Regions from separate parts of the Homo sapiens genome. Here region 1 is linked to region 2. The links are contacts of gene promoters, found by promoter capture Hi-C in blood cells and fetal thymus (Javierre and others, 2016). All regions are on one chromosome and are shown on one strand. The core of a region is centred on a gene start or on the middle of the fragment in contact, and the rest is flanking DNA. Distances in the headings are between cores, read along the strand shown. Region 1 overlaps CRYBG1 (crystallin beta-gamma domain containing 1). Region 2 holds the start of LINC02532 (long intergenic non-protein coding RNA 2532).

What was found. Contacts are between HindIII fragments. The CHiCAGO score rates a contact against its expected background, and 5 or more counts as called.
Region 1: a fragment that was not itself captured here is called in contact with the fragment with the promoter of LINC02532 in region 2 in 1 of 17 cell types (M1 macrophages); the score reaches 5.0 in M1 macrophages.

The regions. Positions count from the first base shown.
Region 1 is chr6:106,364,000-106,370,536 of GRCh38, forward strand. The region is part of intron 1 of CRYBG1 (crystallin beta-gamma domain containing 1); the gene reads left to right. Among named protein-coding and RNA genes, the nearest start is that of CRYBG1, 6.6 kb to the left of the region's middle. The HindIII fragment of the contact is 2,582 bases long and covers 355-2,936 here.
Region 2 is chr6:106,784,356-106,791,565 of GRCh38, forward strand. LINC02532 (long intergenic non-protein coding RNA 2532) reads right to left here and starts at 3,186. Exons shown (of 7, transcript NR_033557.2): 1 at 2,904-3,186. The HindIII fragment of the contact is 9,342 bases long and covers 1-7,210 here.

The DNA.
Region 1 (6,537 bases), core at 396-2,895, 420 kb before region 2:
ACCAACTCTAGGAAGATCTTTTCCTAGAAAAGTTTACCAGTCCAGCCGGGTGCGGTCACTCACGCCTCTAATCCCAGTACTTTGGGAGGCCAAAGCAGGTGGATCACCTGAGGTCAGGAGTTTGAGACCAGCTTGGCCAACATAGTGAAACCTCATCTTTACTAAAAGTACAAAAAAATTAGCTGGGCATGGTGGCTCACACCTGTAATCCCAGCTACTCAGGAGGCTGAGACAGGAGAATCCCTTGAACCCAGGAGATGAAGGTTGTGGTGAGCCAAGATCATGCCATCGCACTCTAGCCTGGGCAACAAGAGTGAAACTCCATCTCAAAAAATAAAAAAAAAAAGAAAGAAAAGCTTGCCAGTCCAAAGATGATTTAAAGTTTATTAAAGTCAGATTTTCGTATTCTGCAAATATTTGTGGCTTTTGGTATAGACATTCTAATCAATTATTTCTTTATATGAAATAATTTGAACTTGGCTACTTCTCTTTCCAAAATTTACTCTTAAAGTTTTTTTTCAGCTTGGTTTTGGTAAACATGGTCATATGATGTTATTTTTCACAAAGATAGAGTTGCTGCCCTCCTGAGTCAGCCCCATCCCCTGTCTAGTCCATAATTCTCTTGCCATTAGAGGGTCTAGTGGTGTGGTGGAATGAGCATGGCGAGCTGTGGCCAGGCCACTTAGCAGCCACTAGTGGCACTGTCATTTACCACATTTTAAATTATACTCTGTCTTGTGAATAATGTGCTCAGAATGTGGATTCTCTACTTGGATTTAAATTCTTGTTCTTCTGTTAATACTTACCATGACACTGAATCCTATCATCCTAGGAAAGTTATTAACATTTTTGTGCCACAATTTTCTCATTCACAAAATGGGAATCATAAGAGTTGTTATAAAAATAAACGAGTTAATGCATTTCAAGTGCTCAGAACAGTGGTTGGCACATAGTATGTGCTCAACCAATGGGAGTTGTTTCTCTTTTTCTTACTAGTTTCTTGCTTATGCCTCCTTTGGAGTAGGAATTTTGTGTGTTTTTCTGCTATATAATGAAAGTGGTACTTTCTTTTTATCTATTCAAGCCACTTTGTGTTATTTTGGTTTTTTTAAATATTAAAAATAGTAAAAATATTAAAACATAAAAAGGCTGCATGTGGTGGCCCACACCTGTAATCCCAGCACTTTAGGAGGTGGAGGCGGGTGGATCACCTGAGGTCAGGAGTTCAAGACCAGCCTGGCCAACATGGTGAAACCATGTATGTAAAAATACAAAAAATTAGCCAGGGGTGGTGGCGGACGCCTGTAATCATAGCTACTTGGGAGGCTGATGCAGGAAAATCACTTGAACCTGGGAGGTGGAGGTTGCAGTGATCTGAGATCGTGCCATTGCACCCCAGACTGGGTGACAGAGTGAGACTCTGTCTCAAAAAAAGCAAAACGAAACAAAACCAAAAAAAAAAAAACATAAATAGAGACAGGGTCTCACTATGTTGCCCAGGCTGGTCTCAAACTCCTAGGCTCAAGCAGTCCTCCCGCCTTGGCCTCCCAAGTGCTAGGATTACGGGTGTGAGCCACCACATGTGGCCATACTTTTTGTTATTTTGATTAGAAGTGGGTCCTTAGCTAAAGGTCAAAAGCAGTGAATTATTTCCATTGAGTTCTTTGTTTAAGAACCTGTATTTTTTTTTAAAAAAAGCAGTGAATTAAAAATTATCACCATTGAACTGAATTGAACTCCACATCTAGAAACAAGCATTAATGCTCCCTGCAGGAGAGCCAAATTCAAGCAGTAGATGGGTCTCATAATCCTGTGAAAATCAGCTCGCCTTGTTTCAGTTGGAGGAAAAGTGTAGCCAGTGTCAAGGGCAGAGCATCCTCATTGGGCAGGCAGAGATCTACCTCTGAGTGAAGGCCAGCAGGCTCAAGTTTCAGAACTATAGACAATCCCTTAGTTTTTCTGTACTCAGTGGACCTTTCCCTTCTATAAAGAGAAAACAACTAACTCCCTGTTTATATCACTAGAATGTTGTAAGGATAAACTATTGTTATCTGGAGCGTTTTTCTTTTTTCTTCAGAAAAAGAACAATCATTTAAAATGTTATTTGAAAGCATTCTGGAACTGTAGAGTGTTAGTCTTCGTAACTTAAAATTGATTCTAGTTTCCAGTCTTTTGTGGCTGGTTTGGTGCTTAGAACTCTAAACAGGTTTAATTATTTTCTAGCATAAAGAACATAGCCAGGTAAGTCTATTTTTGTTTTATGTAATGTTAGATTTAAACTGGTTAGTACTGAGTTTTCCCTCTTATTTTCCTTATACTAAAGGAAAGAGTTTTAATTTTTAGGTTTATTTTATTTCACCAGTGATAAACCAGTAATTTAAAAGTAAGTCTGCCACTAGCTGTGAGCTTCTTGGGAAGTTAGTTTACCCCGATAACTTCTGTTGTATGATCTGTGACCTATCTCTTAACATTGTTTTTGAGAGTTATAAATATATATTTTTTAAAAATGACTAGCCTAGTACCTGGCAGATAACAGAAACTCAGTAAATAGTACCTCTGAAAGCATGCCACAGTCAAAGGATAGTAGACTTTGGTGTTGGGCAGACTTAGTTTCAAATCTGCCTCTGCCATTGGGATAGATTTTTAACCTCTTTAAGTCTCAGTTTCTTCACCTGTAAAATGGAGGCAATTACACTTCTCTTATGGAGCTGTAGGAGGATTGGATGTTATCTATGTAAAGCACCCAGCACAGGGCTTGGCTCAAAGCAAGTGCTGGATAGAGGAAAGGTGGTGGTCAGTAGCAGGGGCAATACTGGCAGTGATAGTTGTAATTATTGTTGTCTTTATAGTAATGGTAGTAGTATTAATACATACATTGTTACTTTGTGAGTGGAGTAAAAACTTCAGAGGCCCAGAAGTCGTAACCAGGTCTGTTAAGCTTTGAAGTACCTTTGAGTATTTGGATGTTCATGTTGGTCTCTAAAAGGGAGACCCTTCATGCGCTCTCAGTGCCTTAAAAGTCTTAATATATCTCACTGAGGAAGCCAAGGCTAAACTTTCTACTTGACATTACAGGAGTTTTTCCCAAAGGGATTTTGGAGTCTGAGTTTAGCATACGATAATCATTTGCCACTTATCTCTGTCATTGAATTACTTTATCCCCCCTCTATTTCCACACTTTCCATCACAATCTACTCTCCATAATCAAGTGGCAGTGACATAAACCCTTTTGGGGACCTTTAGTAAGACCTTCGAAACTTGAGTTCACTTCTTTTTTCTTCTTTAGCTCTTTTTTAAAAAAATATTGGGCCAGGTGTGGTGGCTCACACCTGTAATCCCAGCACTTTGGGAGGCCAAAGTGGGCGGATCACAAGGTCAGGAGATCCAGACCATCCTGGTCAACATGGTGAAACCCCGTCTCTACTAAAAATACAAAGATTAGCTGGGCGTGGTGGCATACGCCTGTAATCCCGTCTACTTGGGAGGTTGAGGCAGGAGAATCACTTGAACCAGGGAGTCAGAGGTTGCAGTGAGCCAAGATTGTGCCACCGTACTCCAGCCTGGCAACAGAGCCAGACTCTGTCTAAAAAAAAAAAAAAAAAAAAATCAAATACATATATACTCCCTTTTTCATTAATAGTTTTGCCAGAATGTATGGCTTTTGATTATAAATCTTATTTTTAGGTCAGCATGGTGGCTCATGCCTGTAATCCCAGCACTTTGGGATGCTGAGACAGGAGGATTGCTTGAGCCTAGGAGTTCAAGACAGCCTAGGCAACAAACTCAGACCCTGCTTATCCAAAAAAAAAAAAAAAAAATTAGCCAGGTGTGGTGGCACACACCTGTGGTCTCAGCTACTGGGGAGGCTGAAGTGGGAGGATCATTTGAGCCCAGGAGTTATGATCATGCTACTGCACTCTAGCCTGGGTGACAGAGTGAGACCTTGTCTCTAAAATAATCGTAATAATAAATGAGTACATCTTTTTTGTAAGCTGAGATAGTGAGTTGCTGCTGTAGTATTTGTCCACAATTAAAACAATGTAGTAAACATATTAGATATTGAAATAGTTTCTAATTCCTAATAGTCATTCAAAATACATATCTTACTATGAACATTAAAAATACATATCTGAGCCAGGCATGGTGGCTCACACCTATAATCCCAGCACTTTGGGAGGTGGAGGCAGGTGGATCACTTACTTGAGGCCAGGAGTTTGAGAGCAACCTGGTCAACATAGCGAGATCCCATCTCTTAAAAAAGATACATACACACACATACACACACACACACACACATCTGTCTTAAAGTTTGAGTTCAGCTAAGGGGTCAGTTATGTTTCAGGAATGTCCATGCAGAAGAAAAGTGATTTATGTATTGAAAATCTGTGTCTGGTCAACATGAGAAGATCGTTTGAAGCTTGAATGGTGTGTTCTTCTGTCTACCTTGAAAAACTTGTCCCAAAGTGAGTTTTCAAGATACAGGATGTATGACTGTCTAATGCTTGTGAGGAGCTTAGCAAGAATGACCAGCGAATTGCTTATGAGTCTCATTAGCTCATTTACAGTTGCCTTAAAACATAGCTGCATTGGGCTAACCCAAATGCCTCATCAACATACCTGTACAGATTCAAATATATGAGAAGTCTTCCCTCTAGAGAGTGAGCCCTTGCTTAGTGCTGCCTTTACAGCACTGTGCATCTTCTGGATTGTTCCGTTCAGTGGAAGAGAAGCAATGACCCCTCATAACAGAGACCTAGATTGAGTTGCTAATTATTCAGCCAGTATACAGTATATACTATAGTGTGGTTACTGAGATACTGAATAGTTTAAGAGTTTCTGCCATAATTAGTACCTCACCTACTACTTAAAAAAAAATAAACAACCATAACTTAATTCATGTTTTCAAAAAAAATTTAAAGCTTGAAGGAACCATATTTGTAACAACAAAATGTCACTTAAAATGATGGAGCCTATCAATATATTGTTACCTATGCAAGAACTCCCTTTACAGAGCTTGAAGTAATGCTAGTAATGTGACACATAATATATTTTATTCATGATTTGTCATTTAAATGTGTTCAGAATACTGATGGATTCATAAATATCTCATGAAAGCATACATTTTGACAAAGTACCAGGAGGCCCAAGGACATACAAATGGGGCAGAGAATCAGAATCCATTTGCAGTGTCCCCGACCTCTCTCACTGGCATGTTATAGACAAGTAAAGGTTGCACCCATAGCTAACACACACAAAAAGAAACACAATTAACAAGTACCTTTTGTTTGTTACCTTCTCATAAATGGCAATTAAATGAGTAAAAGTAGGTTGGTGTTAAGCTTGGCAAAAGATACTGTGGGGAAGAAAGTTGGCTGCTGGTTGTGTTTATTGTTTGTGCCATTTCAAGCTAGCAACCCTAACTGAGTCTCAGTCATTAGAATTTAGGTTTATTCCAAAGGTAATATCGACAGCTCAAATATGAGATTTGGCCAACAGTTACATAAAGTCACCATGCAGAGTACACCTCTTAATTTTTTTCAAATTTGTTTATAAGTAGTAGCATAAGCTCATGATAGTCTTTGGATTCGTTTTTTAATCTTATGATTAGGATCAAGGGTCAAAATAATATATGCTGCATATAAGATAAGAAAATAGAGGAAGCATGTGCTTTATAATAACTTCAGACCATGTCTGTGAAAACATTGTTTCCCATCAATATTTGATTGAGAGATGCAGTTTATTCAATATGCACTATGTATCAGACACTGTTCTAAGTGCTTTACAAATATTAACCCACTACAGTTAATTTATAACTTTCCTCAGAGGTAGGCACTATTATTAGTCCCATATTGAGGAAAAATCAGGCACAGAGGGGTATGATTATTTGGTCAAAGTCACAGAGCTCATTAAGAGTGAGGCTGGGATTCCCCAGCCGGTGATCTTGAGTCCTTGTGGTTAATCACTGCAGGTAAATCCCTGCAAGTTAATCACTGTGGTTAATGGTGCTTTCTTTATATTCTTATATGAGTTCATTTAGCCTCTAGATCTCACAAGTAGAAATTAAAATACATATGATAAATTAAGTTTTGGTACTAGACAATTTCTACGTTAAATAGTGGAAAGAAATATGTTAATTAATAGAAATATAAGTTCATTAAAATCTTAGATGAAAAAAGATTTTAAAACAGAAATTCAAAAGTATATATTATAAATGAAAGTATCATGTGTAGATTCTGAGTTTGGGGCTTCTGCCCAAGCTGTGTCAGAAAAAAGCATTACCAAGAGGTGGACCTACTTCGTACCCCTTCTTCTGCCCTGACACAGGCAGGAGAATGCAAGGTCAGAGATAAGTGGTAGATGGGGGGCCCTCTAGTTGCTGCCCATGCTAAAGAGGCATGGCAGAATTTCTCAAGTAGTTGCTTTACCAGTTGCTGCAGAAAGCTGCTCCTGGCTGCTCTAACTTTAGGCCTCTAGAAGCCCTGCTGCTTGAATCCATTGGTTTTACCTCCTGACTTATTCTTGAGGATTCCCTGGCAA
Region 2 (7,210 bases), core at 1,936-4,435:
TAAAGAATGGGCTATGCAGACTGGGGTGTCTTTAATATGGGATGAGGGATGGAGCTGGGAGCAGACAGAGAACGGAGACACTGGGACAAGCAGATGGAACTCTGAGTTGAAGAATTCTATATCCAAACTTGATATTCTAGGTCCCTCTGAATATATATTTTTCAAGGCAAGAGGATAGAGTATGTTCTATATTATGGTTTCTTAGCTGGATTTATAGCTTTTAGATGTTTAAACATATGCTATGTGGGTCTCCATTTGCACTCTTGCCCCAGCCTGCAAATGTTGGAGACAAGTTTTTGAAGCAAACGCAAAGACTGGTTTCCTATGGTTAGATGGTGGGGGGCAAGGGGAGAGTGGTCTTATCCTTGGAGATGTCACACCAGTGGGCTCTAGACTCCCAGCCCTACACAGATGGCATAATTATTGGGCTTGATCATTTTTATCCCTTATTCACACAAGACAATTAGTCCCATTAGATTACTCCTAACCAAACAAAAAAAAATCTGCTGGTTTGCCAAATCAACAATTACTTTTAACACTTTTGTGTGCAAATAAAGGAAACTCAGTTGTTGACACAGACTAGAGTTCACTTTTTTGTGTTATCCATTAATTAATCAACCCTAAAGAGTAAAAGCAGATTAGGATTAATTGGTTTACACACATATTCCATTACTTATACTACAGTATTTAAAAATAATGACCACAAGGCCGGGTGCAGTGGCTCATGCCTATAATCCCAGCACTTTGGGAGGCTGAGGTGGGCAGATCACTTGAGATTGGGAGTTCGAGACCAGCCTGACCAACATGGAGAAACCTCGTCTCTACTAAAAATACAAAATTGGCGGGGCGTGGTGGCGCATGCCTGTAATCCCAGGTACTCAGGAGGCTGAGGCAGATGAATTGCTTGAACCCAGGAGGCAGCGGTTGCGATGAACTGAGATCGCACCATTGCACTCTAGCCTGGGCCAACAAAAGCGAAACTCCATCTCAAAAAAAAAAAAATAATAATAATAATAATAATAGTAATAATGACCACAAATACAGCATAGCAGCCAGCCTGCCAGAGTCCCCCTTTTGTTTCTAAACTGGATACACCTACGTGGGGTGGTGGCTGTGGGCAGCAGCTCTCAGGATGAGGAATCTACAAGACTCCAGAAGCCCAGAACAAAGGCTCCTCTCCCCTCCAGAAAGGGCATGCCAGCCCCTAGGATGATGTATATCACCGTTTCAGACAATCCTTCTTTAACCCAATAAACCACATCCCCTAGGCCTATGCCCCAGGTTTGGGGTTCTAAGAGACTTACTGCACAATGTTTACGTAAAATCATTCTTCTTTTCTGTGCTGGTGCTCCATATTAAGCAACTTCCCTTTATCTGCACTTATGTTACAGGACCTAAGAATTTTCTACTTACATCCACTTAGGGGCTTTCCATGGGCAAATCTGGCCATGACCCATCACATGCTGTTTTTCCAGCTCTTTGCTGTGTTTACTTTTCATGTAAACTTGGGTTATTCCAATAATTGTTTTTCGGTAATTTGGAGAGTTACAGGAATGCAACATTGAGCCCAAGAGGCAAGATCAAAACTAAAATTTGTGACATTAAATATCCAAGAGTTCTATCCAAAATCTTCTAGAAAGTTAATGAGAACCCCAGGCAAATCAACTGGAAGAAAAATATTTACCATTTAGCACTAGACAGTTGCAGGTACAAATCTTAGTCTACAGAAATGTCGACAAGCTAATCAGTGGGTTCCATTCCCATTCACCCAGGACACACAATACCACATTCAAGAATTCCCTAATGAATATACAGTTCTTACTTTCTCTGTGACCCACCTCCCCCACACCAAGTCCCCAGATACTGGAGACAGGGAGCTTCAAGTGGAGCACCACATATTCTCCTAAATCTCTTGTATAAGTCAGAGTCCTTCCTTTACACACAAGGGCTTTAAAAACTCAAAAGCCAGGAAAATGGGCTTCTATATCTCTGTCCCCTGTTGACTATCCCTTCACTAAGACAATGAGGACAGAGTAACCTTGCTCAAAAAAGCAAGAAGTACTTTGGGAGGCCGAGGCGGGGGGATCACCTGAGGTCAGGGATTCGAGACCAGCCTGGAGAACATGGCAAAACCCTGTCTCTACTAAAAATACAAACATTAGCTGGGTGTGGTGGCACATGCCTGTAACCCCAAATACTTGGGAGGCTGAGGCAAGAGAATCACTTGAACCTGGGAGATGGAGGTTGCAGTGAGTGGAGACCATGCCACTGCACTCCAGCCTGGGCAACAGAGTGAGACTCTGCCTCAAAATAAATAAATAAATAAATAATAAAAACAAGAAGAGAAGTAGGTGAGAGGGTTAAGAAAGAAATACAGGAGGAAAAAAACTATATAATACTTCAAAATTAATATCCAACCATAATACTAACAGTTTTGAATATATTTCCATATAGCCTGTTGATAAAAAAAATCTTTCTTTAAAATATAGATATGATTACAAGCCTCCAACAGTTTCATGTTCCCCACAAAGGAAGTATTAGAAAGATCCTCCTACATTTGGAAAATGAAGTGCTGGCACCACTGAGATATTTGTCTGGGAGACCTACTATTTGCATGGGCAGAGAAAACATTCACATGGAATATTCAACCACAAAAGCATCAGATCCTGGGAACAAAACTAACAATTTCCCAAACACTTCCAAAACATAGCTCTGACCTCTACTCCATCAAAAATTCTGATTTAATTTGAGGAGATTCTGCTCTATTTCTTAAATCAAATGTCCCTATCTCTCTTGCACCGTGAATGCTCTGAATCGACCAGTAAGACAAGAACAACATTAAAACCAACAGTGAGGGCAGTTTCAGCATCATCTTGCTCTCCTCCAAGACTTCCCCTGGTTACCTTGCTCCTTTCTCCCTGCCAGACCTTGAGTTCTCTTTTCCAAAACATGGCTTGAGCACCTCCTTGAAGAAGTCTTCCTCATGTCTCTTATCTTGTTCTAATCATCCCATGGCTAGCGTAAGTAGCACAGATCCCATCTGCATTCCAGCTATATGTGTTCCTGTTGTTTCTTCCTGTCTTCTCATTAGCCTATAAGCTCTATTGTACAAGGTCTACACACTCACATCCACTGTAGTACCCATAACCATGTTGCACAATATTCTGCATACAGAGGGAACTTAATAATTTTTGCAGTTTGACTTTTGGGTCTCTATTCTGGCTCCTGGGTAATCATTTATCAGCAAACAAATTAGTTATCAGTGAAACAGCCATGGTTTCCAGAGTTAATCATTTGTATTTCCACTGCTGGAAAAAACAACACATACCACTTTCCTTGCAGAGAGGCATGCGGTCAGAACGTCACTGGCAGATCTCGCCTGAGAGTTTTGACGCTTGTAACTCTGCCCTGGAAAGGTGAATCAACTTTTATTTTGATTCATGTGTTTTTCCAGGTTCCTTTAGCCTAAATGCATAAAAGTCAGAGAAAGTCATCACCATAATACTGATAACAACAATGACAAAGATATACACATACAGTCAGTGGCTGAACACCCACCAGCAAGATTGCTGGAAACCAAGCCGCACCACACCTGCCGGAGCATCCAGGACCATCTACTCAGTGCAGGCTCAGCAGCCATGCCTACCTTTGTCCATCCCAGGTATGGCTCCCCCAGGTGCCAGGGCTACTTCTCTCTCTTCTAGTGGCTGCTCTTCCTGCTGGCACGCAGCACCTGCCTCCCAGCTCTAAGCCTGTGGGGCAGCCAGGAGAGTCTTGCCTCTGGCCTCCGTTGGTCCCATACTTCCTGGCGAGTGGCTTTGCACGGCAGCCCAGCCCTGGGGAACTTTTCAAGGGAGAGGGCTTCTTTCCCTCCCTAACTCCCCTACCCTCACCCAACCCCACTCCATACTGGCCCTTTACCATCGCCAGTTGTTGCCTTGCCAGGTACTGTGGAACACCTACATCTTTCCCTATCACAGGGCTTGGACACACAGGCGTTGGAGTCAGATACGCTGTGTTTCAATTTTCAACCCCCTACACCAATTGCTTCTCTTTTCTGAACCTCAATTTTGTCATCCACAAAATAGAGATAGTATAATAATACCTGCCTTATGGTGGTGTTGTTAGAATTAAGCAGTAACGTCACTCGTAATGATAACAGCTGTACTGACCAAGGGACTTGTACGTGCTGGGTGCCATGCAGTGTTTTGTACCTCTTCTTGGAGCCCAGCATGGCGTCTAGCCCAGAACAAGTAGTCTGCAGCTTCCTTCCCCCTCTTCTTCTTTCTTTTCTCCTCCCTCCTTCATTCCCTAAATCAAATAGGACCTGGGGGTGCAGCATCTGGTCCCTTATGGGGGCTTTTTCCTCTCTGCAGCATCTTCCCTTCTTCTACAGGCCATCTGAGAGAACCCAGACCCCTACCCCCAGACTCTCCGCCCACTAGAAACAGGAGCCTTTTCACTCTCCTGCCCAAGTCCCCCACCTAACAGGGTAGCTCCATTTCTGTTTCCAGCCAGGTTTCCAAGCTCCATCCCCATGTTGGGGCTCTGCACCTGGTGTTCTGTTGCTCCAGGGAACACAGATGGCCAATAGCTAGAGATAAGGTCAGCTCTGTGTCCTCCTGGACCACAGAATGTGCCCCTAAGAGCCCTTTCCTTCCACTTCAGCACACAGGCAGGCCATTTGCACCAGGAATGCTGCAAAACACTGACTGGACACAGATAATCAATGCTTAAGCATAATGGTCTCCAACGGAGCAGGAGAAGGTCAGGAACCAGCAGGGCATAGCCATCCCCCTATCCTGGGGGAGGCAGTCAAGAGGAAGGGCCCCTGGGGAAAGAGGGAGCTGCACCTCGCATCAGGGGAGGGGGTGAGTGGAACACCAAGATTTACTGGACTTCAGGGGCCATCCTATTGTGGGCTAGCCTCTGAAGAACCTTTAGTAGATTTTGCCACACTTGGCCCTGGCTCTGGTGCACATGCCTCCATTGCCTCAGCAAGGCTGCTGAGCTCTCCCTCTCCCTCTGTTCCATTCTTGCTTACATAAGGCCCTGAACAGCATCTCTTTGTATTTATTCATATGCACCAAATCTCATCCACAACACACTTCAATAGTCATAGACACTTTAAATCCTACTGTTAAAATCCATTTCCTTGCTTCTATGCCATTCCATTCCTTCCACTCCCTCCCAGTTGTTCTCAAAGGAAACCATGCATCAAACATTTGAGCCTCCCTCATCAGTTCTTACTCCAAGTCTCCAGGGCCATGTGACTGTCTATGATCTAATTTCCTGTGGGGTCAATATACAATTCAAACACTTCATCAACAGACCACAGCAACTGTGGCCTCCACTTTCTACCTTCTTGTCCTGGGCAGGGCTAGGCCTGGTCACTTTCAGGACACTGAGACTCTTTCCTGCCGTCTACATCAAAAAAAGGGACCACCCGCAGCAGAGGCAAAGACTTCAAGAATGTGCCCTGATGGACAGTACTTACCTCCCTCTGTCCAGGAGGACAGGAACAGCAGAAACTCTCACTATCTAACAAGAGGAGAAACAAGGTTGGATGTCTCCAGAAGTTGTGAAAGTCAGAGAAATCATACGAATAAACAGACACTAAGCTCTGGTGCAGTCTAAGTGATTTATGTTCACTGTATCTTTACAATAATCCTGGGGTTTAAGTACTGTTACTCTCCACTTCCAAAGTAGACAAGTAAATAGCAGACAAGTAAATGGAGGCTCACCATGGCTCTATAACTGTCCCATGGTCACACAGGCCAAAGCACAGAGGAAAATGACGGATGCATCCCTCCCCTTTTGCTTTAGGAAGGGTGGTCCCCAGGACCTGGTCTGGAAGACAGAAAAAAAATTAAAAAGAGCTGGACTACTCAGCATAATAAAATGATGGAGGGTTGCCAAATTGGCCCTAGCACTTGAAGAAAGAGGATGGTTATTGAAGAGAGAAGGGGCTTTCCAGAGAAAAAGGAAGGAGGTTTTGGTACTTAAAACAACCTGTTAGAAATTTGTAAGAGTTTGTCTAGTGTGACTTGGCATGTTTTTGTGCTGCATTAGGTAGAACTGTAATTTTCTTCTGCTACCCCAAATCTTCAGTGAAAGTCAGCCAAATGTGCCAGCACTACCCACCATAACATTTGTGAACAGATGTAGGTGTTGCTTGGAGAATAAAAGGAGGGAGCAAAGTCCGGCACGGAGGAAGCAGTGTGGAGAGAGGACAGTGGCTTTGATGGGCAAACACTGGGCCCAAGACCACACTGGGCAACCGAGAATTGGGTCTGAGCAGGAATGGGAGGGAAAGGCAGGCTCTGCAAATGCGAAGGCCCTGGGGAATCTTTGAAAATGCTGAGGGGAAATGCGATTCCCCATGTAATTTCGGATGGAGGCTTGAGCCATTCGATGTGGATATTAAAGAAAGTGTGACTTCCAGGAGGCTGAAGGTTTGGAACCCTTTGTTATACCTCTTGCAATTCTATCAACAACCCATGAGATAAAACTTATTTTCCCCTTTGTACAGATGAGAAAGCCCAAGTCATTTAAGAGGTGGATGTAGCCTGGAACCAAAAGACAGGGCCGTGACAGATCGTGTCTGTCCAGTCTGCTCTGAGAACTGCCCCACTGTGGAGCACTTCACCCGGCCAGCAAGCTCCACTCACTCCCGCACAGAACTGCTCAGAAGTCCTTCGTGCTGAATTTTGTATTCCACCCTATCCCCCATGTCACTGCAATCTAAACCTTTTCCTTGAGGACTTCAATGTTAGAAGTCCGGGCTCTGACTCAGACAGCCTAGTTGAGTGACCTTCACATGACTTGGACTCAATTTCCTTGTCTATAAAAATAGGTAATACCAACATCTATTTCATAAGAGTGTCGTAAGGATTAAACAGGAAAAAAAAGTGAAGGACCTAACGTATTGTTAGCTTTCAGTAAATATTAATAGAATTAATATTTTTAGTTATTAATTAAATTATTAACTAATTAAAATAATAATTACTATTATTGTTTTTCCTTGACTTAATGTCCTGTGTACTTTTAGTTTCCCTCAATGCTAACATCCAGTACAAAATCAGAACATTGATACTGGTGCAACCCACAGAGTTCATCAGTTTTGCATGCTGTCATTTGTGTGTGTGTTTGTGTGTGTGTGTCCCTGTACCATTTTATCGCCTGTGTAGATGCGTGTGACCACCACCAC